Linked DNA regions of Homo sapiens: all the other regions are linked to region 2. Evidence: promoter capture Hi-C in 16 types of primary human blood cells and fetal thymus (Javierre and others, 2016). All regions are on one chromosome and are shown on one strand. Each heading gives the region's core, a stretch centred on a gene start or on the middle of the fragment in contact. The rest is flanking DNA. Distances are from core to core; before and after follow the strand shown.

The links. The method cuts DNA at HindIII sites, captures the fragments that hold promoters and counts their contacts. A CHiCAGO score of 5 or more calls a contact.
Region 1: the fragment with the promoter of OR56B4 here is called in contact with the fragment with the promoter of SMPD1 in region 2 in 5 of 17 cell types (neutrophils, M0 macrophages, M2 macrophages and 2 more); the score reaches 14.3 in neutrophils.
Region 3: a contact is called between a fragment that was not itself captured here and the fragment with the promoter of SMPD1 in region 2, in 1 of 17 cell types (non-activated CD4 T cells). The highest score is 5.5, in non-activated CD4 T cells.
Region 4: a fragment that was not itself captured here is called in contact with the fragment with the promoter of SMPD1 in region 2 in 9 of 17 cell types (activated CD4 T cells, non-activated CD4 T cells, naive CD8 T cells and 6 more); the score reaches 18.1 in activated CD4 T cells.
Region 5: a contact is called between a fragment that was not itself captured here and the fragment with the promoter of SMPD1 in region 2, in 4 of 17 cell types (monocytes, neutrophils, M0 macrophages and 1 more). The highest score is 7.8, in monocytes.

Annotation. Positions count from the first base shown.
Region 1 is chr11:6,105,287-6,110,668 of GRCh38, reverse strand. It overlaps OR56B4 (olfactory receptor family 56 subfamily B member 4), which reads right to left and starts at 2,985. Exons shown (of 1, transcript NM_001005181.2): 1 at 1,834-2,985. The coding sequence starts at 2,890. The coding sequence ends at 1,931. It overlaps LOC124902622 (a long non-coding RNA gene), which reads left to right. Exons shown (of 3, transcript XR_007062565.1): 2 at 321-405. The HindIII fragment of the contact is 4,106 bases long and covers 2,460-5,382 here.
Region 2 is chr11:6,385,876-6,391,723 of GRCh38, reverse strand. It overlaps SMPD1 (sphingomyelin phosphodiesterase 1), which reads right to left and starts at 1,250. Exons shown (of 6, transcript NM_000543.5): 1 at 808-1,250; 2 at 1-340. The coding sequence starts at 1,125. It overlaps LOC124902624 (a long non-coding RNA gene), which reads left to right and starts at 1,368. Exons shown (of 2, transcript XR_007062573.1): 1 at 1,368-1,617. RefSeq lists a silencer at 1,034-1,533. The HindIII fragment of the contact is 7,977 bases long and covers 1-2,299 here.
Region 3 is chr11:6,764,898-6,771,055 of GRCh38, reverse strand. It overlaps OR2AG2 (olfactory receptor family 2 subfamily AG member 2), which reads left to right. Exons shown (of 2, transcript NM_001004490.2): 2 at 1,562-5,430. The coding sequence starts at 2,099. The coding sequence ends at 3,049. Among named protein-coding and RNA genes, the nearest start is that of OR2AG2, 4.0 kb to the left of the region's middle. The HindIII fragment of the contact is 4,187 bases long and covers 2,054-6,158 here.
Region 4 is chr11:6,719,065-6,725,262 of GRCh38, reverse strand. It overlaps the pseudogene GVINP1. Among named protein-coding and RNA genes, the nearest start is that of MRPL17, 39 kb to the right of the region's middle. The HindIII fragment of the contact is 3,154 bases long and covers 2,391-5,544 here.
Region 5 is chr11:6,028,420-6,034,187 of GRCh38, reverse strand. OR56A1 (olfactory receptor family 56 subfamily A member 1) reads left to right here and starts at 3,430. Exons shown (of 2, transcript NM_001388488.1): 1 at 3,430-3,486. LOC107984303 (a long non-coding RNA gene) reads right to left here. Exons shown (of 4, transcript XR_001748102.2): 2 at 872-1,132. The HindIII fragment of the contact is 1,300 bases long and covers 3,148-4,447 here.

The DNA of each region.
Region 1 (5,382 bases), core at 1,736-4,235, 280 kb after region 2:
CTACCAGAGACAGCTAAACTGCCTGAGCCTCAGTACTGCCACTTCCCAGTGGGTGAATTTATATAATTACCCAAACTTAGCCCCTATTTCTTTGTAGAAAAGAATTAATAGTAATCCTTTAACAGCTTCCTAATTAAGAGGACTGCTATGAAAATTATGTGAAATTACTCAATCCACTGTGGGAAAGTATTTTGCAAACTGTGAAGAACTCTGCAGGATTAGATGTTATTACTCTGATCCTTCAGGGTAACAAACCATGGGAGGTTGAGTTAAGTTAAAATCCTTTCTGTAATTGTCTCTCTCTTGCCTCCTCTTATTAGATGATCAGTTGCTTCCATTTGAATCACTGTCAAGAAAGAATGAAGCAGCCAATTCTTTTGGAGGAAGTTGATAGTCTCTTTTTGGGTAAGTTTCCAAGCATAACTCTTAAGAAGTCCTGTCCCGCACACAGATGACTTCCCCCTGCAGCTCTGTTATGCTGCCCAGCATGCATTACTCTGGTGAGATGAGCTGATGGTTTCTGATGTTGCTTTAGTCCTTGTGCTATTTCCTAAGAAGTTGTTTTCCAAGGTGGACTCATGTGCAAACTTCCTGAGGTCATTATTCAGACCATGGTCCAGGTATTTTCTTTGATACACATAATTCAACAGATCTATAATGCTCCCTGATTATATAATGAATTAAGCACCTACTGTGTGCAATGTTCTGACTGAGGCTCATTGAAAGTACACATGAATGGTTCTTGTACTCAAAAAGTGTGCAATTTTTTTAGGTGAGCAAACAGCAAAAATTCAGTTAGCTTTAATTAACAGGTTATTTGAAACTATTTTTATAGGGCATTTTCTAGGATCCATTTTCTTCCTTTCCTAGCAAGAAAACTGCCACATAGTTAGATTTATATTTCCATGTGTATATCTTATTTCAAAGCATGTATTCTTTATCTCTTTTGATTGTCACAGCATGTTTGCGATTTGGCTCAGCAAAATGTTATGATTTTTGTCACTTTTAATCAGAAGAATTGAAACATAGGGAGGTTTCATAAGTTGTTCAAGTTCACACAGAAATTTTGGAACAGAGCAAGACTGAGAGTAAGAATAGTGCTATGGTTTTTCAATCAGACTTCCCAGGACTTGAATCCCAGCTCTCCCACTTAGAAACTGTGCTGTCAGGGGGCAAGTTCTATAATTTCCAGTGCCTGAGTTTTCTTAGCTGGAAATTGGGAATAATATTGTACCTGCCCAAAGGGTTATTGTGAGAATTGAGTCAGATAATCTACATACATATTTTATCAAAGTTTCTGGCCTACAAGAAGTATTTAACACTTGTTAACCATTAATTCATTAATTATTGAGATTTTTTTGGGTACGAAAATTAAACTTTACTCCTTTTTAATAAACATTTATTGTTTACTTTTTATTATAAAAATTACATATGAAAAGCACATAAATATGTAAGAGTTAAATATGTGTAAATATTAAAGGCTTTGTTTTCTATTATTAGTCATATTATAATGATTTTTATGAATAACTTTTTGACTGCATTTAGACTATTTCTTTTGGATATTTTTCTAAAATAGAATTACTGGTTAAGAACATTTAAACATTTATAAACATTTTGATAAATTTTACCAAATTGCTTTTTGGTGTGTTTATAGTCCTACCAGTTGTGTAGGAAAGTGTTAATCTCGGGGTAGGCTAGCAGTAATAGTTAGAAACATTTCACTTTTTTGTTCTTACTTATTTTCCAGGTAATAGGAAATTTTCTTGTAATTTTAATATACATATTTTGATTAGTGAGGCTGACAGTTTTCATGATTTTATTGGCCATTTTTTTCCTAGGGAGTGTGGTAAGTGCAGATTATAACCCTGATCTATTGAGAACTAAAACCTCTGTCATTTCCTAACATCTTACTGGATTCCTAAAGCTGGAGTTACTTGGACACGTCCTGACCCAGTCCAAGCAGTCTCTGAAAGCCCAGTCTGAGTTTGTGCATCCTGAGTGCACAGGCCAGGGGGTTGAGTGCAGGGGGGATGACATTGTGCAGCACATTAAGGAACACAGGAATAAGGGGAATCTTTTTCTCTGCAAGGTGTGTGACAGACAGCACAATGATACCTGTGTGGAAGAGGATGAGGATGAGGTGGGAGCTACAAGTGCTCAGAGCCTTGGACATTGCTTCTGCTGAGTTCAGCCTCAGCACAGAGTGAAGGATTACAGCATAGGAAGAAAATACCAGAGCCATATCACTCCCAACCAAGACCCATGCTAGCATCAGTTGGTAAAATTTGTTCACAGTGATGTCATCACAAGCCAGGCTGATAACCCCCAAGTTAGAGCAGAGGCAGTGCTCGATTTCATTCCTGGAACAGTAGTGTCTCTGGGCAGCCAGTATAGGCACTGGGATGGTCAACAGGCCATTCCTGAGCATGATGAACCCTGTGGCTTTGAAGACAAAAGCTTTAGTGACTATGGAGGGGTACTGAAGAGGGCGACAGATGGCTATGTATCTGTCTACTGCCATGCAGAGAAAGATGCCTGACTCTATGCAGAAGAAGCAGTGGATGGCATAGATCTGAGCAAAACACATGGGGAGGCTAATGGCCTTGGCATCAAACCAGAAGATGGCCAGGATCTTGGGCATGATGGTGGTGGCCAGGCCAATGTCCACCACTGCTAATATGCCCAGCAAATGGTACATGGGTTCATGTAGCACGGTCTCATGTTGAATGGTGATTATGATGAGGAGATTGGCACCAAGAGCTAAGAGGTAGAGCAGAGTCAGGGGCAGGGAGAGCCAGTGCTGCCACTCATGAATGCCTGGTAATCCCATCAGGATGAACTGGGAAATCTGGAGGCTGGAGTCATAGGTAACACTGGTGGAGGTATCCATGGAATGGGTGCCTCAGTCTCAGTGTCTGTCTGAAATAGAAGAAATCTCTGTTTAAAAGTTCAGCTAAGGGGCTGAGCATCGTGGTTCATGCCTGTAATCCCAGCACTTTGGGAGGCTGAGACAGGCAGATAATTTGAGGTCAGGAGCTCGAGACTGACCTGGCTAACATGGCAAAATCTCATCTCTGCGGAGAATACAAAAATTAGCTGGGTGTGGTGGTGCCTGTCTGTAATCCCAGCTACTTGGGAGGCTGAGGCATGAGAATCATTGAACCTGGGAGGCGGAGGTTGCCGTGAGCCGAGATTGTGCCACTGCACCCCAGCCTGGACAACAGAGTGAGACCCTGTCTTAAAAAACAAAACAAAACAAAAAGTTAAGTGTCTTGGTAAGAGCTCCTCAATAATGAACCAGCTCCTTTTATTCATGAATGACCCTCAACTTTATTTGACTTCTGGAAATATTCCACAGAGGAATAACAAAAAAAGCAAAAAAATTCTAAACAGAAGAGTTGGAATAACTATTTTTCATCACCACTTGTATGTCTAATAAGCATGTCCACATATATTAACAACAGTCTTATCACTAACAGATAACAAATGTTAGTATTTGATTTATTTCCAATTTTCTATTTTATTTTTAAACAGTCTACATCATTATCTAGAGATGATTTTGTATCTTGTTTTTGTCTTTTAGCAGTATGTGTTAAGATGTAATATAAGCACTCAAAAATTTTATTTCATGGATGAATACATTAACCAAAGACTTCACAATATTATTTAAAAAGTGTGATGTTAATTTTAATTGCTGCTTTAAATTTTTGCATTTGGCTATTCTATAATTTACTGACAGGTATTTTGCTTTTAATATTGTTTTCCTTGAGTAGAGTTTCAAAAGTGATGCAAAAATTATATATACAAAGGATATAATAGTCTTAAAATTTTAAATATAATTTTGATTTTATTTTAAGATATATTATCTATACATGGTAAAAATCAAAATAAAATGAAAAATATAAACAATGAAAAGTAAGACTCTCATGCTTGGGGCTTTGAAATCTTTTTCCTTTTCACTAGAGGCAGCCAGTAATATGTTTCTTGGGAATCCTTCCATTAATAGTTTATGCATGGATAAAAACATATATATATATATATATATATATATATAATTTTCATAAAAGACATAATCAATTGTTAGCACACCTTTCTCCTTTTTTCTTTCCTTTTCTTTTTTAACTTAATATTTTGAAGACTGCTCCATATTTCCATACTGCAGTTAAGTTGCATTATTTTCTACCACCTAGATGCCCTATAGTTTAATGATTTTTTTTTGTATTTTTAGAATTGATATATCATATTTGTAGATATTTTGGAGGTACATGTGATATTTTGATACATGTATACAATGTGTAATGATCGAATCAGTGTAATTAGGATATCCATCACCTCAAGCATTTATCTTTTCTTTGTGTTAGGAACATTGCAATTCTCTTTTAGCGATTTTGAAACATACAGTAAATTATTAACTATAATTTTCCTACTGTGCTATTGAATACTAGAACTTATTTCTTCCACCTAACTGTATTTTTGTCCCCATCAGCCACCCTCTATTCTTCCCCTACCCCCACCCTTTCCGGCCTCTGGTAACCACCATTCTATTCATTACTTCTGTGAGATCCACTTTTTTTCTTTTTCCGGCTCACTGCAAACTCCACCTCCCAGGTTCAAGCGATTCTCCTGCCTCAGCCTCCCGAGTAGCTGGGATTACAGGTGTGTGCCACCACACCCGGCTAATTTTTGTATTTTTAGTAGAGATGGGGTTTCACCATGTTGGCGAGGCTGGTCTCAAACTCCTGACCTCAGGTGATCTGCCTGCCTTGGCCTCCCAAAGTGCTGGGATTACAGGCGTGAGCCACCGTGCCCAGCTGAGATCCACTTTTTAAGCTCCCAAACATGTGTAGGAACATGTAATATTTGTCTTTCTCTACTTGATTTATTTCACTTAACACAATAACCTCCAGTTCCATTCATGTTTCTGCAAATGACAGGATTTTATTCCTTTTTGTGGCTGAATAATAGGCCACTGTGTGTGTGTGTGCGTATCACATTGGATATATATATACACTCTCTATACTATATACAGTGTGTGTATATATAGTGTGTATGTATCTATATATATCTCTCTCTATATATCTCATATTTTCTTTATCCATTCATCCATTCATGAACACTTAGGTTGATTCCATATGTTCGCTATTGTGAATAGTGCTGCAATAAACATGACAGTGCAGATATCTCTTCTATTTACTGATTTCCTTTCTTTTGGATATAAACCCAGCAGTGAAGTTGCTGTACCATATGGTAGTTCTCTTTTTAGTTTTTTTGACGAACCTCCATATTGTTTTCCATAATGGCTGTACTACTTTACAATCCCACCAACAGTGTACAAACATTCCCCTTTCTCTGCACCTTTGCTTGCACTTTCATATTTTTGAT
Region 2 (5,848 bases), core at 1-2,500:
CCGTGCCCTCCAGGTAGTCATGATCCCAGTGCAGGTCAGTGAGGAAGAGGATGCGGCTGACAGGGGCACCTGGGGCTGGGGGGCTAGGGGGTTTGGGGGGCGGCTTCGGCACAGTAGGCAAAGAGATGTTCCAAGATGAGAAAATGTCCCAGTGCCCACAGGTGGAGCCCAGGAGCAGGCCACAGGCCTCAGATGGGCTCAGCACTGAGCGTCTCCACACCTCCACCATGTCATCCTCAAAGAGGTGGACAATGGATTGGCACACGGCAGGTGGTGCTATCTTCAGCAGATTGCACAGCTTGATGGCCACGGAGCCCACGCGAGCCACATTGGGTTCCTTCTGCAGTGGGAGGAGCGCATGGTGAGAAATCAGAGGCAGAGCAGAGGAACCAGGCCAACCCCTGGCCACCACCCCTTGGGCCTCCATTTCCAAACTGGGGCTGGGCAGGACTCAGTGCACCAAGCTCAGTGCACACCTTTGCCTTCCAGATATTGCCCTGTAACTCAGGCAGCACCAGGCCATCGCTTCTTCTTTAGCTCAGCGGCCTGTGGCATGAGGCCTTTGCTTGGCAAGCTGACTTCCTCAGGCACTGTCTGCATTATTTTCTTACTTCACAAAGGTCACAATGGGGTGATGGTGGCATGTAGCCATGGGTGTCCCCAAAGGGGAGCAAACTCAGTGATGGATTGTAGATGCCACCCTCTCCATCAGGGATGCATTCTGAGCCCAGCGCACCAGCATCAGCCCCAGCCCCCAGCCCCAGCACTCCTTTCGGCCTCCTCCACTGCAGCCCCTTCAGTGCTCACCTTCAGCCCGAGGTTGATGGCGGTGAATAGACCTTTGCAGATTGGGCAGGTGAGGTTCCCCCACCCAAAGACATCTCGGAGCCGGGGCACTATGCGATGTAACCTGGCAGGATGGCCTTGGGGAGAAAGAGGGTGAGCCTCTGCCGGAGCCCAGAGAACCCGAGAGTCAGACAGAGCCAGCGCCAGCGCCAGCGCCAGCGCCAGCGCCAGCACCAGGCCCATCCAAAGGAGTCCGGGGGCTCCGGCGGTCCCGTCTTGTCCCTGCTCCCGGCCGGACCTGGGGCAGCTCTGGCGGAGTGACGCTCCGTAGCGGGGCATTGTCGCGCTTCCTACACGGGGCTGGTTCGTCTGTCCCGTCCCCCCCGGCCTGGACCCTAGCCAGCCCTCAGGGCCCCGGGCGGCGCCGGGGACACCCGATTACCCTTCTCTGTAGTCGGCTGACTGCTCCGCGGCCGGCCGCAAAGCAGCTCCGCCCCTTCCTCTTCCTCTGATCTCTGACAGCTGATCTCTCGGTGGCGGGCGGCTGTCAACGCTGCGGAGGCGGAGGGGGCGGGGCGCTCCCGGGACCGCCCCGATTCCGCCCCCTCTCCCTGCCCCCGCCCTGCCCCGGGCGCACGGGCTGCGGGGGTGGGGACTCTCCCTGAGGTCACCAGGGGCTCCGCCTTGAGGTCACAGCCGCGGGAGGCCGTGCTCGTGCTTTGGAGCTCCATGTGATGTGGTCGGTGGAAGACGTCTCCTTTGTCAGAATCCGCGCTCAGATTCCCGGAATAGCTGCCAGACCGACCCCAGCGTTTAGCCCGGGAAGGGGAGGTAGGAGAGAGCAGGGCGGGCAGGATCCTCCCACTGGGTGTGTTGCCTCTGACAGGAAGGCGCCTTCCCTCGATTCCCCATGCTCTGCCACTGGCACCAGCCCTCTTGAGTCACCCTGAGAATCACTCACCTGTGATTCAGATGAGGAAACAAACCTTAGAGATGGTGAAGAGACTAGGAAGCCGTAAAGACCATATAGCCGTGGGGGCCAATAACATGGGCGGGAACCCAATTGGGTCTCCCACCTCCGTGTATCCACGACAGTAAAAGCGAGCATTTATGGAGTTGTTTATGATGTGCCAAGCACCAACCCAGGCACTTTATAATTAATAATCTTCAATTCTCACAACAACCCTAAGAAGTACCTATTATATTGGGGCTCAGAAATCCATACCCAAAATATGGTGGTTTGACTTACTAAGTTAAGCCTTAAGGTGTGTCTGGCCTTCCTACTCCCGCGCCCTCTCTCCCAAAGCCGTTACCTAGCGTCCAGACCCATCAAAAGGAACAACGGTTTTTTTCTTCCCCTCCCTACAAAACCAAGAATATAATCACACCTGAACAGACCCCTTCACATGATAATGTGCTAGTTAATCTGTTCCCTGATCCATTCCTTCTCCCTCAGCAGAATTCCTCTTCCCCTCACTCCCACAACCCCCTTTGCCTGAATGACACCTAAGCTTCTGAACTCGTCTGGGAAGTGGGTAGTCACTCTGTGGTTCCCCGTGGACACATTAATACAATTTCTATGCCTTTTCTTCAATTAATCTGTTTTTTGTGGGTTGATTTTTCAGCAGAATTTCAGAGGGCGAAGGGAAAGTTTCCCTTGGTCCCTGCAAATACTATTATTACCCTCCTTTACAGATAGGATGAGGCACAAAGAAGTTAAGTGGCAGAATAGCAATTAAACCCTAAGCTGTTTGACGAGTGCTTCTGAGGAATCCTCAGAGCTATCAAGTCCTGTCAGTTCTTTCCTTTGATAATTTTTTACAAGTGTTTTTTCCCCCCAGTTCTGGGGACATCATCTCAGATAGAGTACTCACAGTAATAATTAGCATGCATTTTTAAGATTATGTACTATGAAAAACAAAACAAAACAAAACCTTTTTATCTAAGGAAGATGAGCCCCTTTAAATTATCAGGCCCAGACAGGCATTTAAAATGTAGCAACAGTCACTCTCACTCTTCTTTGAGCTAAGTAATTATCTCTTGAAACCACTTGCTATGCCAAGTAGCCATTAAATGCCATACACCTTATAGTTCAACAATGTATAGCCAAGCGCTAAACAATGTATAACCAGTGTTATTTCTGTAAACAATGAGAATTCCTGATGAACAACTTTTGTATTCATTTCCTCTCCTAATTCATCTTTTTTTCTTTGAAAATATGAGCCTCTCTTTTGTTGTCCAGAGTGCTCCCCCAAGACAACTTGCAAGTGTGTCCTGGGTCGCAGTCCTCAACCTTGGCCCTTGGCCCGAATAACCCTCTGTAGGTACTTTTCTGAGGACTCTGCCTTACGTTAATCCTCACAACAAATTTGGAAGTCGGTATTATAATTATCCCCATTTTACGGAGAAGGAAAGTAGGATTAAGTAAGTGGCTCAAGATCCCACAGCTAGCTAGTAAGTGCTGGAACTGGAATTTGGATGTGTCAAGCAAAACATGTCTGAGACAGGTCTCAATCAATTTAGAGGTTTATTTTGCCAAGGTTAAGGACATGGCTGGAAGAAATAAACACGGAATCGCAGAAACAGTCTGTGGTCTGTGGCTTTCTCCAAAGATGATTTTGAGGGCTTCAATATTTAAAGGGGAAAAGTGAGCTGGAGGGAAAGAAGAAGGGTATGGTAATCCACATGTCGCAAGAGAAAAGGAGCAGGTAGGGAGATACTCAATTATGTGTTCGTCTGGCACTTTACATAAGATAAAGTAAATATGCCTGTGGAGATATTTAACCTTTTGTGTTTTTTTTGTTTTTTTTTTTTTGAGACAGAGTTTTCGCTGTTGTTGACCAGGCTGGAGTGCAATGGCGCAATCTCGGCTCACCACAACCTCTGCCTCCCGGGTTCAAGTGATTCTCCTGCCTCAGCCTACTGAGTAGCTGGGATTACAGGCATGTGCCACCACACCCGGCTAATTTTGTAAATATTTAACCTTTTGTCTGTAGCTATCTGCTTAGGAACAAAAGGAAAGGCAGCTTCTTGCATGACTCAGTTTTCAGTTTATTTTTTTTCCTTTTGGCATAGTCAACTGGAGTCCTGAGTTTTTATTTTCCTTTCACAAATGCAACATTCTGGCTCTATTCTTTGCTGTGTGGGGACCCATTCAGAACACCAGAGTTGGTATAACAATTATTTTAAGCCGAAGACATTTCAGATTCAATAGATGCAGAAATAAACCTTCTGGGAGCTTTCTTCATCTGATTAAAACTTCTGGGAAATGTCAACCTAAAGGGAAAAATCTAAGGCAAACTTGATATAAGTAGAGAGTTTATTTGGGCCAAGTTTGAAGACTGTGAAGCGAAGATTCAAGTTGCCCTGAGTATATGCTCCCAATTAGCAGAAGTCACAAGTGGGTTTTTAAAGGAGAAGAAGAGGCAGTTCCTAATGAGGACTAAGCTCTGATTTTTTCTTATCTTGCTCAAATTCCTATCGAAAGGGTCTGGGGAGTCATGCCCTACAAACCATAAATTCTTATCAGTTGGGTTTTATTTAACACTATATATTGTGACTGCCTTTTCAGTCATACTCTGGCATAAAATTACGTGATAAAGAAGAAAGTCAAAATATTTTACCCCAAAACATGTTTCTTTGCCATATATATATATATATATATATATATATATATATATATATATATGTTTTTTGGTTTGGGGTGGGGGGCGGGACAGAGTTTCACTCTTATTGCCCGGGCTGGAGTGCAATGGGGTGATCTTGGCTTACTGCAACCTCCCCCACCCAGATTCAAGGGATTCTCCTGCCTCAGCCTCCCGAGTAGCTGGGATTACAGGCACCCACCACCACCATGCCCAGCTAATTTTTGTATTGTTAATAAAGATGGGGTTTTGCCATGCTGGCCAGGCTGGTCTCGAACTTCTGACCTCAGGTGATCCGCCTGCCTTGGCCTCCCAAAGTACTGGGATTACAGGAGTAAGCCACCGCACCCGGCCACTTTGCCATATTTTGAAATGGCCCTGCAAAGTCGTACCTTATGGGGGAAAATTTACATCTGTAAAGAATCTCTAATAACACAGATCTTTTTCTTCTGGGCCCTCCAATCCTGAAGAGATTAACTGAGAGTCTAGCACCTTTTAAAGGTCTGAATAGGAAACATTTGTCGACTGTTGTCTCTAAGGGCAGCCACTAAGAGACTTCAAAGAACCTTGGTCTCCACAATCTTTTTTTTTTTTTTAAAAATGGCGTCTCACTCTGTCGCCCAGGCTGGAGTGCAACAGTGTAATCTCGGCTCACTGCAACCTCCGCCTCCCGGGTTCAAGCAATTCTCCTACCCCAGCCCCCCGAGCAGCTGGGACTACAGGCATCTGCCACCACACCCAGCTAATTTTCATATTTTTAATAGAGATGGGGCTTCACGATGTTGGCCAGGATGGTCTCCATCTCTTGACCTCGTGATCCGCCTGCCTTAGCCTCCCAAAGTGCTGGGATTACAGGTGTGAGCCACTGTGCCCGGCCTCCACAATCTTTTATCTTAACCTGAACATTTCCTTTCTATTGATCCCAGGTCTTTAGACAAACTCAACCAATTGTCAACCAGAAAATGTTTAAATTTCCCTATAGCCTGGAAGCTCCCCATCCCCCAGCTTCAGATTGTCCCACCTTTCTTGACCAAACCAATGTATTTCTCAAATTTATTTGATTGATGTCTCATACATCCCTAAAATGTATAAAACCAAGCTGCACCCTGACCACCTTGGGCACATGTTCTCAGGACCTCCTGAGGGCTGTGTCACGGGCCATGGTCACTCGTTTGGCTCAAAATAAATCTCTTCAAATATTTTACAGAGTTTCACTCTTTTCATAGACACTAAGTTGTTCACCAAGAATTTACATAAAAATAACATAAGCTATTGATTGGCTATGCCTTGTTCTTTGTATCATAAATCCCAGGAATGTGAAGATAAAGGGTGAGGCATGTCTGACTAGGAACAAACAATTGCACCCCACTTCTTGGTTTTGTGGGAGCAAGGGTGGGGGTGAGGGGTGGAGTGTATGA
Region 3 (6,158 bases), core at 2,898-5,397, 380 kb before region 2:
ACTTCTCTTGGTTTGAAATACCCGCAACCACCAGCAGTTTTCCAGAATGAAGCTCTTCCTCTGTAGGCCCAGTGTGTGTTCTCTGGCCTTTCCCTTTAGATGACCCCAGAGAGAACTCAGTAAATGGAAAGAAGGGAAAACAATAGTCCCGTATCAGAGGGAGGAGGTAGGTATGTAGGATCCTGAGTCCTGGTTACACCACCTTACCCAAGCCCTGATTTTTCTTCTCTTTGAAATCCTGTCCAAACATCTGGTGCAGGAAGCTAGAAGAATGTGCCCAGCTAATTATGTTCCTCCTTTTATTTACCTGTCCATTCATCTTTTTATTCAAGAAAAATGAAGGCATTTCAAATCTAATATTTAGCAGAAATAGTGCTTAGAATTGACTTTGGACTTGTGTTTTTGTTGTCAACAGACAAATAAGGTTTTCCGGTCAGTGGGTCAGTGGTTCCTAGGTTAAAATTATAGTTTTGATTTTGTAAGGCAGGAGAAAATTCTTAGACTACATTGCGTGGTGAAACACAGTTTTATACAGGGTATTTTTCTGGGGGTTTCTTGTCCAGACTTCACTGGGCAAAAGTGCAAGGAGGACATTCATGTACTGTATTTTAAGGTTCTGACTTTCACGGTACCATCCCTCACTTTTTTTTTTTTAATTATATCCTGACCCATTTTGATTTAGCCACCTCCTATTTATCCTCAGCCTTTAGTCTGTATACCACTTCCTTGGTGAATCCTTTCCTGAAAACTCACTTATATGTTCTCCTAGTGTATTTTCTTTCATGTATTTTTTTTTCACTGGATGTATGTAGGTGTTTGTGGGATCGATTTTTCACATCTACACAGTTGCCCAAGTGCAGTGCCTGAGATATCATAGGTCCTTAGTAAATATTTATTGAATGAATGAAAGGAGCAGGATCAGATGCGCCTTCCAATGTCAGGTTTTTGTATGACCTTACCACTTAAAGGTTCTAACTCTGAGTTGACCAGGATAGGGACATAAATGGATAGTTGGAGAAGTAGGTGCAGATTATGGAAGGGAAAGATGAATAATTTGATCAAGAATTATTTGTCTCTTCCAAAAGGCCTCCTAAGTCTTCCATCCGACTGTGAAAAAACTGCATTCACAAAAAGCGAGCCAAGTGAACGCTGTCCCACATGGACCTCACACTCCACTCCTCCTCCCCAACCCCTAGCAGCAGAGCTATCATATGGATTCAGGGTTCAGCAGAAACACCATTTTCCTTGTATTCCTAAGATTTGTGGGGAGAAATCTTCTTCTCACCTTGTGTGTGTTGCTGTGGCTCACAGGTAACGCTATTGCTTTGGGCCGTTTCTACAATGTCTCCTCCTTTGTAGCTCACCCCTTGTATCATGTGCCCTAAACACAAACACCTGCCATGCCACCACAAATCTCATGTATTGCCTTTATTCCTGCCTGTTTCTGAGAAAACATCTTATTATCTCAGCAAACACCTTTTGTACTGTTCCTCTAGATTTACCTCTAGAATCGATACCGCCATGACTGTTAAATTCAGCCCAGAATTCTCTTTCCCTCCAGCAGAGCAGCACTTGAAGAGTCCAGGTGATCAAGCAGCCCAAGAACCCAGAGATTCTCCTACTGAGGAAAGTAATCAACAACAATGAGACTGGTTTAAGGGAGAAGACAGCAAAGAGGTTTTTTATAAATAAAATTTTAAAAACTGAATTGGAATTCCAACTACATTTTAAGCAGAAAAATAGCTAGATCTTAAACCAATCCCCAGTATATTTGTTCATTGTGAAGAAAGAGATGCTTTCATCTATCTACAAAGATGTTTGCTTGGGCTTATTCTTCAGGATACCTTATTTGAAGGGATTTCTAAATGATTACTATTAACAACATGTCAAAATACCTGATACCAGTTTAGCTGATGGTTTATTTCAATAAAAGCATTCAGAAATCAGAGGCATACTAAGAAATGGAAAATATATCATATTATGGGATTCCTATTGGCCAATGCACAGTGACCTAGAACAATCCAAAGCTAGAGTGAACACCTTTAGAAAAGCTTCCACTGATAATATATTTGGTTCTAGGCAACTAAAAAAACACATCATGGAGCTCCGGAACTCCACCTTGGGAAGCGGCTTCATCTTGGTGGGGATTCTGAATGACAGTGGGTCTCCTGAACTGCTCTATGCTACATTTACAATCCTATACATGTTGGCACTGACCAGCAATGGTCTGCTGCTCCTGGCCATCACCATAGAAGCCCGGCTCCACATGCCCATGTACCTCCTGCTTGGGCAGCTCTCTCTCATGGACCTCCTGTTCACATCTGTTGTCACTCCCAAGGCCCTTGCGGACTTTCTGCGCAGAGAAAACACTATCTCCTTTGGAGGCTGTGCACTTCAGATGTTCCTGGCACTGACAATGGGTAGCGCTGAGGACCTCCTACTGGCCTTCATGGCCTATGACAGGTATGTGGCCATTTGTCATCCTCTGAAATACATGACCCTCATGAGCCCAAGAGTCTGCTGGATCATGGTGGCCACATCCTGGATCCTGGCATCCCTGATTGCTATAGGACATACCATGTACACTATGCACCTCCCTTTCTGTGTGTCCTGGGAAATCAGGCATCTGCTCTGTGAGATCCCACCCTTGCTGAAGTTGGCCTGTGCTGATACCTCCAGGTATGAGCTTATAATATACGTGACAGGTGTGACTTTCCTCTTGCTCCCCATTTCTGCCATTGTGGCCTCCTACACACTAGTCCTATTCACTGTGCTTCGTATGCCATCAAATGAGGGGAGGAAGAAAGCCCTTGTCACCTGCTCTTCCCACCTGATTGTGGTCGGGATGTTCTATGGAGCTGCCACATTCATGTATGTCTTGCCCAGTTCCTTCCACAGCCCCAAACAAGACAACATCATCTCTGTTTTCTACACAATTGTCACTCCAGCCCTGAATCCACTCATCTACAGCCTGAGGAATAAGGAGGTCATGCGGGCCTTGAGGAGGGTCCTGGGAAAATACATACTGCTGGCACATTCCACGCTCTAGGGAAGGATCATGGCTTGCCTCTCACCATTCCTCCTCCAGATAAAATTCTCTACTCACTCATTCCTGCTCCAAATAAAATTCTCTACTCACTCATTCTTCAATACTGTACTCTGAGATGATAGATACATTTTTTAAATTTTACTTTTATTTTCAACTGTGAATCTGGTGTGTACAATGATCTTGAGTTAAACTCATTTGGCACACATCATCCTGACTTTGGAAACCCATGTTATAAAAATAACCAGATGGGGGAAAAGCCTTGAATGGGTGTTGTAGACTCACTCTGTGGTAGGCATCGTCCTGACACATTACCAAGTAGACATGGTAGGGGATTAGCTTTCCATTTTAACATCACATAGCAGTGAGAAGCAGCAGTAGTTTTGGACTGACCAAATTCCAATAGCCTCTCAGCATCAGAGGAGGACTACTCCCTTTGAAGCAGATTCTTAAACTACTAATAGAGGGAAGAATTTTCAGAAGATATATTAGACTTCCTGTTTATTAAGTAGATGATTATTTGAGCAGTTAGTGGAAATGAATAAGAGTTATGTGACTGCATTTGTACTCTAGACCTAAGGGACCTTCACATTGGTTACTTGAGTAATGATAAATAATTACATTGAAAGAGTGTGGCCAGGCGCAGTAGCTCACGCCTGTAATCCAAGCACTTTGGGAGGCTGAGGTGGGCAGATCACCTGAGGTAAGGAGTTCAAGACCAGCCTGGCCAACGTGTGGAACCCGGGTCTCTACTAAAAATACAAAAATGAGCGGGGCATAGTTGTGGGTGCCTGTAATCCCAGCTACTCGGGAGGCTGAGGCAGGAGAATTGCTTGACCCTGGGAGGCGGAGGTCGCAGTGAGCTGAGATCGCGCCACTGCACTCCAGCCTGAGCAACAGAGAGAGACTCCGTTTCAATAAATAAATAAATAAATAGAAAGAAAGAATGGAAAAGGATAAAGAAAGATATTTCTACTTGGAAATTTTGACAGTCTTTTTGAAAATGGGCATTTTTACATTGCCTAAAATTAAAACTAAAATAAAGAATGAATAAAATAGAATTGAAAGTACCAGTTTTAAAGTGAGTACAATAACAATGAGAGAAATTTGTTGGGAATATTGTCTAAGTTTTTTAAAATGTGGACTTGCAGATATGTGAATGTGTTTTTAAACATTAAAACAATTGAAAGAGGTTATATTCTTGAGGTGAGTGTATGTACATGTGTGTTTCCATAGAAAAGGAAGTATAAAATTTATAATTTGCTTTCTAGCTAGCCTAAATAAGCCTTATTTTTTTTATTCTACTCATCAGTGTGGGAAGATTTATAGCAAAATTTGGGAACTTAAATTTGTTGAATGCAGAATTCCCAAAATATCTTGGCTTACATAGGTGTTATTATTCTTGAGAATAGTGCTTTGTCAAAACACAATAATTCTTGTTTTCTTTATAGAAATAATATTACATTATTTAATCTATAAAGCTAAACCATAAAAAATAAAAGATAAAGCTAATCTATAAAATTAATCCAACTTTGTTATAAAAACTGAGAAAATTAAAAAAATTAGAATAAATCAAAAATCACTTATAAATTTTTCTTTTTTGTTGCACATATATGCATTTTACTGAATTTAAATGTCCATGATGATGAAGGTCCTGTGTTTTTTCCATTTGAAATTTGGTGAATCTTCTTCCTTGCTATGAGGGAATATTTTAGAGTAGTGATGAGAAAGCAGACCAGAGTGCCCGCATTTGAATCCCTCTCTTCCTTTGGTCATCTATGCATCTTTGAACGCTAAATTAAACTCTTTGTACCTTAGTCTGCTGATGTTAAAAGTGGTGATATTTACTGGCCTGCTCTTGTGATATTGTTGGGTAGATTAAATAAGATAATTAATATCAGGTACTGAGACCACAGCTTAGTAAACTGTGCTTAAAACATTTTGGCTGCTATATGGATAAATAGTAAAAAGCCTTTTTAAAAAATCTTATTTTATTATTTCCTTTTAGAAATGAAACATTTGTTTATTATTTTTATTGACAAAATATGTATGTCTTAATGTAGTAAAACATGATGTTTTGAAATATGTATACTTTATGGAATTGCTAAATCAAGCCAACTAACATATGCTTTACTCCACATACTTATCTTTTTTGCATTAGGAAAAGTTAAAATCTACTTTCTCAGCAATTTTCAAGCACACAATATAATCTGATTAACTATAATTGCCATGATCTACAATAAATCTCTTGAACTTATTCCTCCTGTCTAACTGAAGTTTTGTGTCCTTTCACCAGCATCTCCCAAATCCCCCTACCTCAACATTTGGTAACCACCATTTTACTCTCTGTTTCTGTAAATTCAGCTTACAGGTTCTGCATATAAATGAGATCATGTGATATTTTTCTTTCTATACCTGGCTTATTTCACTTAAAATAATGTTCCCCAGATTCATTCATGTTGTTGGAAATTATACGATTTCCTTCTTTTTTAAAGAAGGTAAGACTTTCTATTCTGAGTGTGTGTGTGTGTATCTATCTATATCTATATCTATATCTATATATATATATCACATTTTTTAATCCATTCATTCATTGATGGACACTTAGGTTGATTCCATAGCTTGGCTATTGAGAATAATGCTGCAATGAACACAGTAGTGCAGATATCTCTTAAACATACTAATTTTATATTCTTTGGGTGTACACTCAGATTGGGATTGCTGGATCATACAGTAGTTCTATGTTTAACTTTTTGAGGAACTTCCATACTGCTTAAATTGGTACAATGTAAAATGTACCAATTTACATTTCCACCAACAGTGTGCAAAAGCTCCCTTTTTTCCATTTCCTAACCAACACTTTTCATATCTTGTTTTTTGGATAATAGCCAATCTAAAAGACGGAAGGTGATATCTCATGTAAGGTGATATCTCATTTGATTTCCATTTCCCTGAAGATTATGAATCTTAAGAACCTTTTCATATACATGTTGGCCATTTTTATGTCTTCTTTTAAGAAATGTCAATTTAGGTTCTTTCCCCATGTATTACTCAGGTTATTCCTGCTATTGAGTTGAGTTCCTGATATATTTTGGATATTAACCCTTTATTA
Region 4 (6,198 bases), core at 2,718-5,217, 330 kb before region 2:
CTCAGCTTCCCAAGTAGCTGAGACCACAGGCACATACCACCACGCTCAGCTAATTTTTGAATTTTTCTGTAGAAACAGGGCCTGGCCATGCTGCTCAGGCTGGCTTAAAACTCCTGAGCTCAAGCAATCTACCCACCTCAGCCTCCCAAATTGCTGGGATTACCAGGTGTGGGCCACCATGCCCATCCTGTTTTTGTTTTTTGGGTTTTTTTTTAAATAAGCCTTCTACCACTTACTCTCTTACTCTTGCTCAGCTCCCTCTTGAACAGCAACAATTTTTACCTTTGGTCCCTTGAGGTAATTTTCTATATCTTGCAGGCAGTCTTTGTTCCTTTTCATTATTTTTTCTCATCAGACTATCTACTTTCAAATAGCCAGTCTTTGAGCTCACTGATTCCTTCATCTGCTTAGTTCATTCTGGTGTTGAGAGCCTCTAAAGGGTTCTTTGTTTCAGCAAACGTATGTCTCAGTTCCAATATTTTTGTTTAATTTTTTTTAATTATTGTTTCAATCTCTTTGTTACACTTTCTGACATGCTTCTGAACTGCTTTACCTTTGAGATAATTGAGTTTCTCTTGGGCAGAGAATTCACAGATCACTATCTCATTAGAGTCAGTCACTGGATTTTTGCTTAGTCTTTCTGTGGAGGTAATGGCTCCCTGATTGTTGTTGTTTCTTGTGGGCATGTGCCAATGCCTTTGCATTGAAGGAGAAGTTATTTATTCCAGTTTTCTTTCTTTGGCTTGTTCTGGTTTTTATTTAGTATATTTATTTAGTGAATATTTACCACTAGATTGCTGCCTCCTTTTTCAGTCTAGGTGGTGCCTTAAGCCTAAGTTCACCTCGGCTCTGGTAAATGATTATAGCGTTGCCTGTCCTGAATGGGGGAGGTCTCAAAAGGATTATCTCAGCAATGTGGGAAGGCTGGCTAATGGTTCATGCCCAGGGCACCTATGGAACATACCTCCTACAATGTGCTGCTGCTAAACAGCCACTCTGATTTGGCATCTCCTTTGGCCAAGTTACAGAGCAGAATTCCCTAGGATGTGGATGATATTCTCACTTCCTCCCTTTGTCTTTGCTTGTCCTCAGGGATATTTATCCCTTTAGGTAGTCATGATGCTTCCTGTGGGTTAAGGCAAAGACAGGTCAACTTACAGGGGACTCAAGAAAGTGGGAAAGCTGACTGACCACCTCAATTTCACCTGTTCCAGTGTAGAAACTTTGAGTTGGGTGTCAGGGGAGATTTTCTATGTTCTTAGTACCAAAGAGAATAATGTGTAGGGTCATTACAGATGTGGAAATTTGATTCTCTTACCATCTGCTCAGAGTTTTCCCACTTCTGTGTGGTCCTGGGAACTGCCTCATCCTCATACTTGAGCTCTGGGTTATTGATGGTAAAAATTTCAGTGCTATATATTTGTTTTTGGTTTTCTGAGTGGGGACAGTAAAGCCAGCTTGCCCCTATGCCATAATCTTGCAACTGTAAGTCTTTAATTTTTGTTGTAAATGTCCCTTTTCCACGATCATTCTTTAAGAATATCTCACTATACATAAAATTTGTGTCTGATATTTTCTTTCAGTGAAATAAATACTCCATTCTACTCTCTTTTGGCTTCCACTATAGCTGTTCAGAAATCAGCTCTCTGTTAGGTTTTTAAAGGTAAACTCTTTTTCTACTTGTATTTGTACTTTCTACATGTATTTGTTGTTTTGTTGTTGTTCTTGTTGTTTCTGCAGTTTTATTCTGATGCATCTGATTGTAAAGTTATTTTATTTTACTTTAATTTTTTTACTTAGTGTTTGCAAAGGTCTTAAACTTTGTCTTTAATTTATAATGGAATTTTTTCATTCATTATTGCTTCAGATTATTTACCTCTTCTGTCAGATATTTTTACCAGGTAAATTACTTAAGGCTTTAAAAAATTGTCTTATACATTTCTCTACTTATTTCAAATGGCTTTCATTGGAAAGATTGGTTTGAGCTGCTGAGTTTACCATTAATTAACATGCAGATTTAAATTGTAGAGACATTGAGGAAGAAGAAATGCGCAAGACAAAAATGACTGCAAGATGGTGTTTTACTCTGTTTTGTGTTGCTATAGCAGAGCACTTGAGACATGGTAACTAACAATAAACAAATTTATGGCTCAAAGCTCTGGAGGCTGGGAAGTCCAAGGTCAAGGTGTCAGCATCTTGCAAGGACCTTCTTGCTTTGTCATCACATGGCAGAAGCACAAGAGGCAAAAGGGGACAAAATTCAACCTTTCATAACAGCATTAACCCCACCCATGATGGCATAGCCCTCATGGCCTAATCACCTCTCAATACTAATCATCTCTCCTGCCTCTTAATACTATTAAGATGGCAATTAAATTTCAACATAAGCTTTGGAGAGGACAAACCTTCAAACCATAGAAGATAGAATGACTATTATAGCAATCCGATAGACATGATGAAGGCAACATCTAAGGGAGAACGGATAGAGTGTCAAAAAGAAGTGAAATTAAATAGAGGTTTAAGAGGACAAATGGAAAAGATATTATGTACTAAATTCATGTTAAGAAGAAGGATGAACAAGACGCCCATTGGCCTGGAAGTAAGGTGGTGCCATTCAGCAGGACAAGAATTACAGGAGGAAGGGAAATTGAATAACGTATGAAATTGAAACATGTAAAATCTCATCTCATCTGCTGGTCAAGGATATATACTGAAGGTAGTGAGGGGAAAAACATAACATTAATAAAACATTAAATACAGGGGAGCATTTGAGTCTACAGACACAGATGAAGGTGGCATCAACAGAGAGACAGCTATTAATGTAACAGAAAGATGATATTAACTAGGGAAAATTAAGAGTAAGAAGGGAGTGACAAGCATAAACCAGGTTAGTAGCACATTTAAAAGGGCAGGAAAGCAAATAAATATCATGAAATGCCCTAGGAAGAAGTGACACAGAGACAGGAAGGAAACCAGGCAACACAGATTTCACAGAAACTAGATAATCTGTTGGTTCCATCACTCTTTAAAAAAAAAAAAAAAAAATCAAGCTACCAAACTCAAACTCAAGCATATTTTCAAACTCCGTCTCTCATCTTAATGTTTTACATGCAATTGATTCTATGTAAAAGGAATTGTCAAAATAAGTCTAGTAAGTTGCAACCCACCCTGCAAACCACAAAGGCAATCCACATTGAAAATATCCACAATGATGGCTTGCACACAAAAAAGGGTGTTAAAAAATTTTTGTTAAAACAATTAAATGAGGAATGAGAAAGCCTTGTAGACTTGCATACTAGTATACTTACACTTTTGGCCATGTGGCTGACACTTCCTAAGGTCAGAACAGTCAGCTAACTGAGTGTCTGTTTTTTATGCAGCCATGGCCACAGGAGAGCACACCCCTGATGACCCTCTGCTCAGAGGCAAAAGGAGGCAAGACCTCCAAGAGATGCTGAGAGAAGTGGGCCTGGATGTTGAGTACTGGTTACCCAAGCTGCAGGAACACCTGGGTGTGACCTGTGCCCAGGCCTTACAACACCTAGACAAAAACAACCTCAAGAAGCTGAAATCCCAGACACAACATCCATGGGAGAAAGCTGCTTAATCTGTCACACTCAAAAAGTCTTTCAGCGTTACAGGAGTCTCAGGTGGAGAGGGCAAAGAGAAAGCAGAAGCAGGCAGAACAGGCACTGCAGGAGCTGAGGGACTTGCTGACAGAAGGGAAGCAGAGACAGGAAGAGGCAGTGAGGACAAGAGAAGCAGAGCTGAGGCAAGCAATGGACATCCCTGAAGAGTACTGGCCATCCCCTGAAGAGCCTCTAAGGGAACTCATGGAAAACCTGCAGAGACAACTCAACCTCATGAAGTGGACACTGTGCCACAGGCAAAACCTTCCAGATAGAGATGTGGTGAGATGGGCATCTGGAGGGCTGGCCCTCCAGGGAATTTACAAAGCCAGCCACCAAAGGGGCCTGACAGAGAAGAGAGAGGAGTTGCTCAGTGTCCCCAAAGAGTTCTTACTTTTGGGTCCTCAGCAAGGAACACAAATGAAAACAAAGGAATTCACATCTCCTCAGGCTGAATTCATGTTTACCCAGATGGTAGAGAAGCTGGGCTTTCGTTTAACTACTTCAGCCAAGGACGGAAATTGGGGGTTTAGTCTAGAAGCTGGTTTGGATCACAGCAAACATCCAGAATCCAAGGAAACCCAACAATCAAGTTCTGAGAATTCTTATTTCTGCTCAACCAAGTTCAGCTATATCCCCCTGGCCTCCTGCCACTTTCCCATTGATCAGCTCCAGTTATCCAAGCCTGCTGTCCAGGAATTGAAATGCATTGAAGAGCTTCTGAGTCAGACAACAAACCCAGACAGGTTCTCCTTGCTGAGGCACAGGATCATAAACTTCTTCCACAGGTTTGGCTCTCATGTTAACCAAGGCCCTCTGCACCTGGGAGGAATCTACTGGTGGAAAGCCATTTCAGAGGGTTATTGCACGGAGCAGTTGGCAGAAGTGAGGCAGCAGTCTGCAGAGGCCCTGGACATTTTCATAAGGGACAGCTACAGTGGCTTTGGAGTGAAAGTTGCTGCAGGTGTGAATGTTTCAGACTCTCATTCGAAGACAGCCACTCAGACCAAAACTTCCCAAAACCTCCAAACCAAGGTCCAATTATCTGTGGCCCAAACAGGTGGCCCACCAGAAGCAGATGGCCTTGTCCAGTGGAAAGCTGGCCTCATTGCCAGCAATCAAACCTGGTGTGTCATTGACCGCGGGCTTCAGTTGGTGCCAGTTTGGGACATTATCCTCTCTAGCCACAGAAGCAATTTTAAGGATCCTCTTCAGGTGGCTAACTTCCTGAAAGACAGCTACACTGCTCTGACTAGCATCACTGCCCAGATCCAGAATGGGGAAGAGTTACTGAGTGCTGGGAAGGAGGCCAGGGTTTTTCTAGAGGATGTAAAATCTTGGGAGGTATCTGATCCTGAAGAGCAACTTAAAAAACTGATAAATTTCATGAAAATGTTGAGTCAAAAACTAAAAAGTTATGACACTTGGATTAATATATGTCTCACAGATTAGAGTCTGCAGAATTTTCTAGTAAACACCATCAACTTTTGCAAAAAGTCTTCCATTTATAAAACTAAATGTATTAAATCTCATTTGCGCAGCCTTCTGGATCCTCACATCTACAGAGTGACAAACTTTCCTCAGGCTCACTTCATCATGCAGTGGATCTTCCAGTCAGATTCAGAGCAGGAGCAGGTGAATATTTCCCAATTTTCTCAATTAATTGAGATCTTAAAAGAAACCCAGAATAACCTCATGGAAGTAAAGGTCAAATCTGAGTCCCCAGAAACAGTGGAGGAAGCTCAAAGAAAGTCCACTTATGAGGTCAGCTTGGCTCTCAGCTGCTTCTTGAATTATCTCCAAAAAACAGAGCAGACAGACACACAACTCTTGCTACTTTCCATTGCAGCTGCTGCAGGATATCATGTGATCAACAATACTTTTCAGAGTCTCTTGGGGTGTGATGAGTTAAGCTTCCTACTGGATGAAATGCAAACCGCCCAAAATAAATACCAGGAGCTTAAGAATATTTGCAGCTATAGGGCTCAGGCATTCCTGGTTCTCACAGGTCTGACAGCCACAGTTGGAGACACAGCTATTTCTTCAGAAGAGAAAACACAACGCATGTCATTAATGAGACATCACATGGGACAATCATTGTCCAAAGAAGTTGCACATGTCCTCACCAAACCTGGAGCAGATCACGATTGGGAAAACCTAGAGAAAGACTTGAGATTGCTCATTAATGGGGATTATGAAGAAGTCACCATCTCTTCTTTGCAAATGGAAGAGGTGAGCAAGCAAAGTCTCTTCTATGGAAAGAAACAGCCCCATGAACCACATGACAATGAAAATAACAAATGGGAGATGATAAAAAATGGAGCCTTCCTAGACTTACTCCAGCATCTAGGTCTAGAACATTACTACCCCAAAAAATTGAGCAAAGCTAATTTCCATCTCATCTATAAGACGTCTGTGTATAACACCCAGCCCAGCTCTGAACAGGAGCTTCCCTTCTATTTCCTGCAGAAACTACTGATGATGGATTATGAGCTGAGATACCTAGTCTTCAAAGATGATAGAAACACAGAACACCAAGTACATCCAAATGCTTCAGATCAGGAAGATG
Region 5 (5,768 bases), core at 2,548-5,047, 360 kb after region 2:
TATAGGCAGAGAGGTGGGAAGTGTGGCAACTCGATGCATTTTGATCCTGAACACTTCAGTAAACAGCCTCGTAGATTGTATTTCTTCCTTCTGCCTTCAGATAAGAGGGTTTGATTTTCTTACTTGGGTAGGGTATGTAGTGCAAGTGAAAGATTGGGCTTCATCTTGCCTGACCAGGAACAGAAGGTCTATAGATCCCACAATGGGATAAAGGGTATAGAGATAGAGCAGAGCCAGGCATGCTGGGTCAATTATGTCACTGGTCACCTGGATCATGGGTTCAAAGAAAGTATTGATGAAGAAGCTGGTCAATATTTCCCTGAATTCTGTCTCAGAAGAGCAGTTTAAAATAGAAAAATATAACTTTCTTTAGACTGTTAGAACATTCTTCATATTTAATCAAGATCATTTTTTCTGTGATTTCTCTCTAGTGGTCCTTATTTTGCCCTTTTCCCCTAATAGCCATTCATAAATGTTAATGTTATCATTGATATTCTTGTTTTCTGGAGGCCACACACATACAATGTAAAAATGACCCTCCTCCTTCAGTAGAGAGCAATGCCTCTTATCATCCTGTGACTATATGACTGTGTCTCAGTTTGCCAAAAAACTTTTTAATGCATAGTGCCCTGTATTGGATAGTCCACTCCAGATGTACTAATTGGAACCGGATTGAGAAAGATTCTCAACTACTTTGCTCTTGGCATTGTACTTCTGACATTAAATTAATACACATCAAATACTCAGAAGAATGTCTGGTACATACTAGATACTTGGTTCATGTTGGTTAATATTGCCAATCCAGTTTTAGAAACAATAAATTAGTTTTTACTCTATGGACCACATTATTGACTTATGTTTATATACGTACTTCCACTTGCTGGAACATCTAGGAATCTGTTCCCTTTTCTTTTCCTCCTGTTCCAGACTTTCTCACTCGTCCACACCCATTTTCCAATGTTCAGTAGTGAAGAAATGGACTTTAACAGAGTTAGAGCCTAGGTGATAACACTGGATGGGTGGAGGCAAGTGTCCTGGGCTCATTCAGGCAGTAGAGCTTTGACTCTTCATGAGTAAAAGGCTAATGTGTGATGACTGGAAGCAGATAGGAGGATTGATCCACAAATGTCATCTGAGGAGCATGAAGAGATATGAAGATTATGTCAAACAATGCTAGAAAAGGACAGAGCATTAAGGGGGATGTACCTCAGGGATGGTAAAATAGAATGTTGGGGGATGAGGTTCAAACAGAGGGAAGACTCACATAGGAAGATGAGATTTCTGTTTGGATAAATTGGTAATGATTTTGACAGGATGAAATTCAAAACAATTCTTACCAACATTAGGAGCAAGTGGATCATTTTATGTTTATATTAGGAAAAGGAGAAGACCCATTAAGTCAGAAACCTAGCACAGGGCTTTTTCATCAAGTAAGTGGGTGAATCTTGGGGGGCACCTGTGAGCAGTGGCATAAATAGATCCCTGAGTTCCATCATGTATTCTGTGCCATGCCCCGCTTCCCTCTAGTCCACCAGACAACCCCCCTGTGGCTACCCTTTACAACACTGATCAGAACTGCCCCTCAGCCCACTGAAACTGTGGTTAATTCTCCTTTCTCATTCTTCCTCCTTAAAATTTTCTATCTATGTTAAACACCAGGGCCAGTAATGCCAAAATATTTTTCAGTGGGCTTTTATTAAGAATCTATGGGGTGTTAGAGAATGTAGTATGTACAAATGGAAAAGTACCCTTTATCTGCCCTCTATTTCACAGCAGAGTGGAGGGAGATAGAGAGGTACAAAAACAACATGCTAAGGTTTACAGATAAAATTTATTAATAGTAGAAGTGGCTTCCTCAGTGAAGTAGCTACCTCAATTATCTTACTTTCCTTCTGAATATTTACTCTTTCCCTGAACATATAAACATACCACAGTATCTTTCATTTCCGCCTTGCTTTTTCTTCTATTATAAGTTTGAAATGGACTTTAGCTACACAGTCAACTTTCCCCATCTACACTTCCTCACTTACTAGTTCTCCAGCTCCCTTCATTCTGGTTTCTGTTGCTACCAGTCAAATGAATCTCTCTTGGCCAGGTTACCAATGACACACCCTTATTATAATATTTAATGAATATTCACTGTCCTTATGTTATTGAACTTCTACTTGACTAACAAGTTAGTAAAACCCTTCTTGAAATTTTCCCCTTGGTTTTTTCTGGGGCATCTTATTCTTAAGATTTTCTTTATACCTTTCTAGCCCTTCCATTTATGTCTCCCTTTTCTTTTTCCACCCCTTCAATGTTACTATTTTCTAGGGTTCCAATCTTAGCCTTGTGCTATTCCAACTCTACAGGCTATGTTCTAATGCTTTCTGAATTTATGTCCTAAACTACGATCCTTCTAATTTTCTCAAACTCTTCAGTTTGAAACAGCCGAAAACAAATCTATGTGTGGCGATTATAAACACCTCGTTCTTGACATATCCCAGTACACACTAATCTTACTCATTTAGCTGTATTTTACATCTTGGTGATGCAACTTATTTACTCAAGCTAGTAAACCGGGGGTCACTCTGGGCTTCTCACCTATTTTCTCCTTTAAAACAAATCTGTCAATAAGTTCTGTCTATATGACTTCTGGAAGATTCACCTTCTTCCCATCCTCAGTGCCTCAGCCTTTGTTCAGTTGCACGTCACTTCTCACCTTGGCTATTGCGGCCGCCATTCTTTCTATTTCTGCTCTCTTGCCTTACCCAAGTTCATGCATAATAATGTGTCCAGAGTGATCTTTCTGTACGTACCCTAAATCTGGTCATGTCTCTCTTCTAATGGAAATATTTTTTTCCATTTCTTTTCATCCATATGACTAGTTCTAAAATCTTCAGCATAGAAAATGTACTTAAGATCTGGCTTTTTCTTTTATCAACTCCATTTTTGGCTCTTTCTTTCAACTCCTCATCCTTTTGGCTCCAGTCAGATTAAATATTGCATAGAATTTCCTTCCAAAGTTATTCTCAGACTCATCTCCATGCTTTCACATAATCCATTTTTTATATCTTCAATACACTACACAGATTTAATGCATGTAAATCCTCCACATCTATTGAAATAAAACTCAGCTAAGTTGTTAGCAGCTTTAGGAAAGCTTCTCTTTTCCTCTAGGGTTGAGTTCAGAAATTTTCCTTTGTGCCTTCCTATTATTCTGCTCATATGTCTAATTAACTCACTCTACAAATATTTTTAGCCATTTCATGTCAAGCACTGGGCTAATTGATGTTATTTTCATGGCATGAAATGTCTAATTGGGCATTGGAAGAAGGAGTATGTAAGCAACTTATCATATAAATGTATAACTACAGATGATGAGGATGGTTCAAAGTACTACAGAAACATAAAATAGGAGGACTTGATCTTGTGTAAAGGGGGTTAGAACAAACCTCTCAGAGAAGAGAGTATTTGAATTGAGATGTAAAGGATGAGGAGAAAGTAAGTGTTGTGTAGAAGCATAAGATGCACAGCCTTCCAAGAGAAGTGGGATCAGAAAGCTCATGTAACGTTCGAAGATCTGAAAGGACGGTGTGGCTGAAGCTCAGGGAGCAAGGGAGATGGGGTGTTAGATGGAACTGGAAAATGAGGAAGGAGGTAGATAATATATGGCATTGCCTGCTTTCCTTCCTCCCCTCCCTCCCTTCCTCCTTCCTTTTCCTTCCTTCCTTCCTTTCATAATGTAGTCAGTTAACTATGTGTACCTAGCAATCTATCTATACCCTGTTTATATAGTGATGATAAAAGAAAAACCACACATGGTTTCTTCCCTCATGAACTTATGGTCTCATGAAGTTCAAGTAAAAAATTTCCTTTTTATAATATTAGCAATGAGAAGCCACTGAAATATTTTAATCAGATGACTGGTAATATTTATATTTAAAAACATTTCCTTGATTTCAATGTAGAGAATGGTTTATAAAGAAACCTAGACTGCATTAGGAGGCAATATTTACTTTTTACTCGAGGTAATAGTACTTGGATGGTGAGAGTGGATATGGAGAAGTGGATGGATTCCAGGGCTAATTAAAAGGGAAAATGACATGTCTTAGTGGTTTCATCATGTACTTCGTATCATTTTCAATGGGTAGAATAAATGTTCAAGACATTTTCTGGGCGCTGGCTTCTAAAACTGACAAATATTTACACCAGTCACTGAGATGCTGGCAAAAGACCAGGTTTTTAAATTTTGGACTTGGTGAGCTTTGAATATCTTTGGGAAACCCAGGTTGATACATAAAGTAGGCTTCTGGAGAGGTCTAAGTAAGAAACATAATTCAGTAATTTAGTAATAGAGATGGTAATTGTCTAATGACATAGACAAGATAAAAGAAGTGGAAGAAGGGAAAACAGAATATCAGAGAGGAAAGAAGAAAAGCGAAGAAAATGTAGGACTGAAGCTTTAAACTGACGTCAAGGTAGTGGATGATGGATGTGTTCGAGAAAATGAGAGGGAGTGACCAGGAGGTACAAGGTAAACTAGAAGTCTGTGATATATGAATTAGGCCAAAGAGAGTGTTTCAAGGAAGAGGATTTGATCAACTGTTTCAACAAGATTTAACAATAGGGAAGCTGTAGGTGATTTCTGAGAGCTATTTTGTGGAACTAATGGAGATGGAAGCCAAATTGAAGTGAGTTGTGGAATGGATGTAAGGTGAGGGAATGGAGACAGTGAGTGTAAATGCTTGTGAGAGGTTTGTGCATGAAGGGAAGGGGAGAGTTAGAGAAAGAGCCAGAATTCAAAGCTGGGAGAGATGGGATCAATTCTTGAAGATGGACAGATTATTTATTTTAATGAAAGGAAACAAGAAAAGGATGAGAGTATATACACATTATTTATAAGTCTTACAAAATTTTATATAAATTTATAGGATCAAAGTGCAATTTTGTTCCATGCATAGATTGTATAGTAGTTAAGTCAGGGCTTTTAGGGTATCCATCACCTGAATGATGTACATTATTCTCATTAAGTAATTTCTCATTATCCACCCCCTCTCACCCGCCTCACCCTTCTGAGTCTCCATTGTCAATCATTTCACTCTCTACATCTATATGTACACATTTTGAACACATACTTATGAGTGAGAACATGCAATATTTGTCTTTTTGTGTCTGGCTTGTTTCATTTAAGATAATGGCCTCCAGTTCTATCTACGTTGCTGCAAAAGACATGATTTCATTCTTCTTAATAGCTGAGTAGTATTCCATTGTGTGTATGCCATATTTTCTTTATCCTATCATCTGTTGTTGAACTCTTGGGTTGATTCCATATCTTTGCTATTGTGTATAGTGCTGTGATAAACATACCAGTACAATTATCTTTTTGATATATCGTTTTCTTTTCTTTTAGGTAGATACCTAGTAGTAGGACTTTTGGATGTAAGGGTAGTTCTATTTTTATCTCTTTCAGGAATTTCCATACTGTTTTCCTTTGAGGCTGTACTAATTTACATTCCCACCAATTGCATATAAAAGTTCCCTTATACATGTTGGCATCCTTGCAAATATCTGTTATTTTTTGTATTTTTGATAATAGCCATTCTGACTAGGGTAATATGTATCTCACTATGATTTTAGATTTGTAGATTTTATTTTGAAAAGTTGAGGAAAATTTTACTGATTACTTTCTACTTTCTCCATGACGTGGTATTTGATGTCACCTTCTGAAAGAAGTAGAGTTTCAGGTTTGAAAAAAATGAAGACATTTGGGAAATAATTTTTTC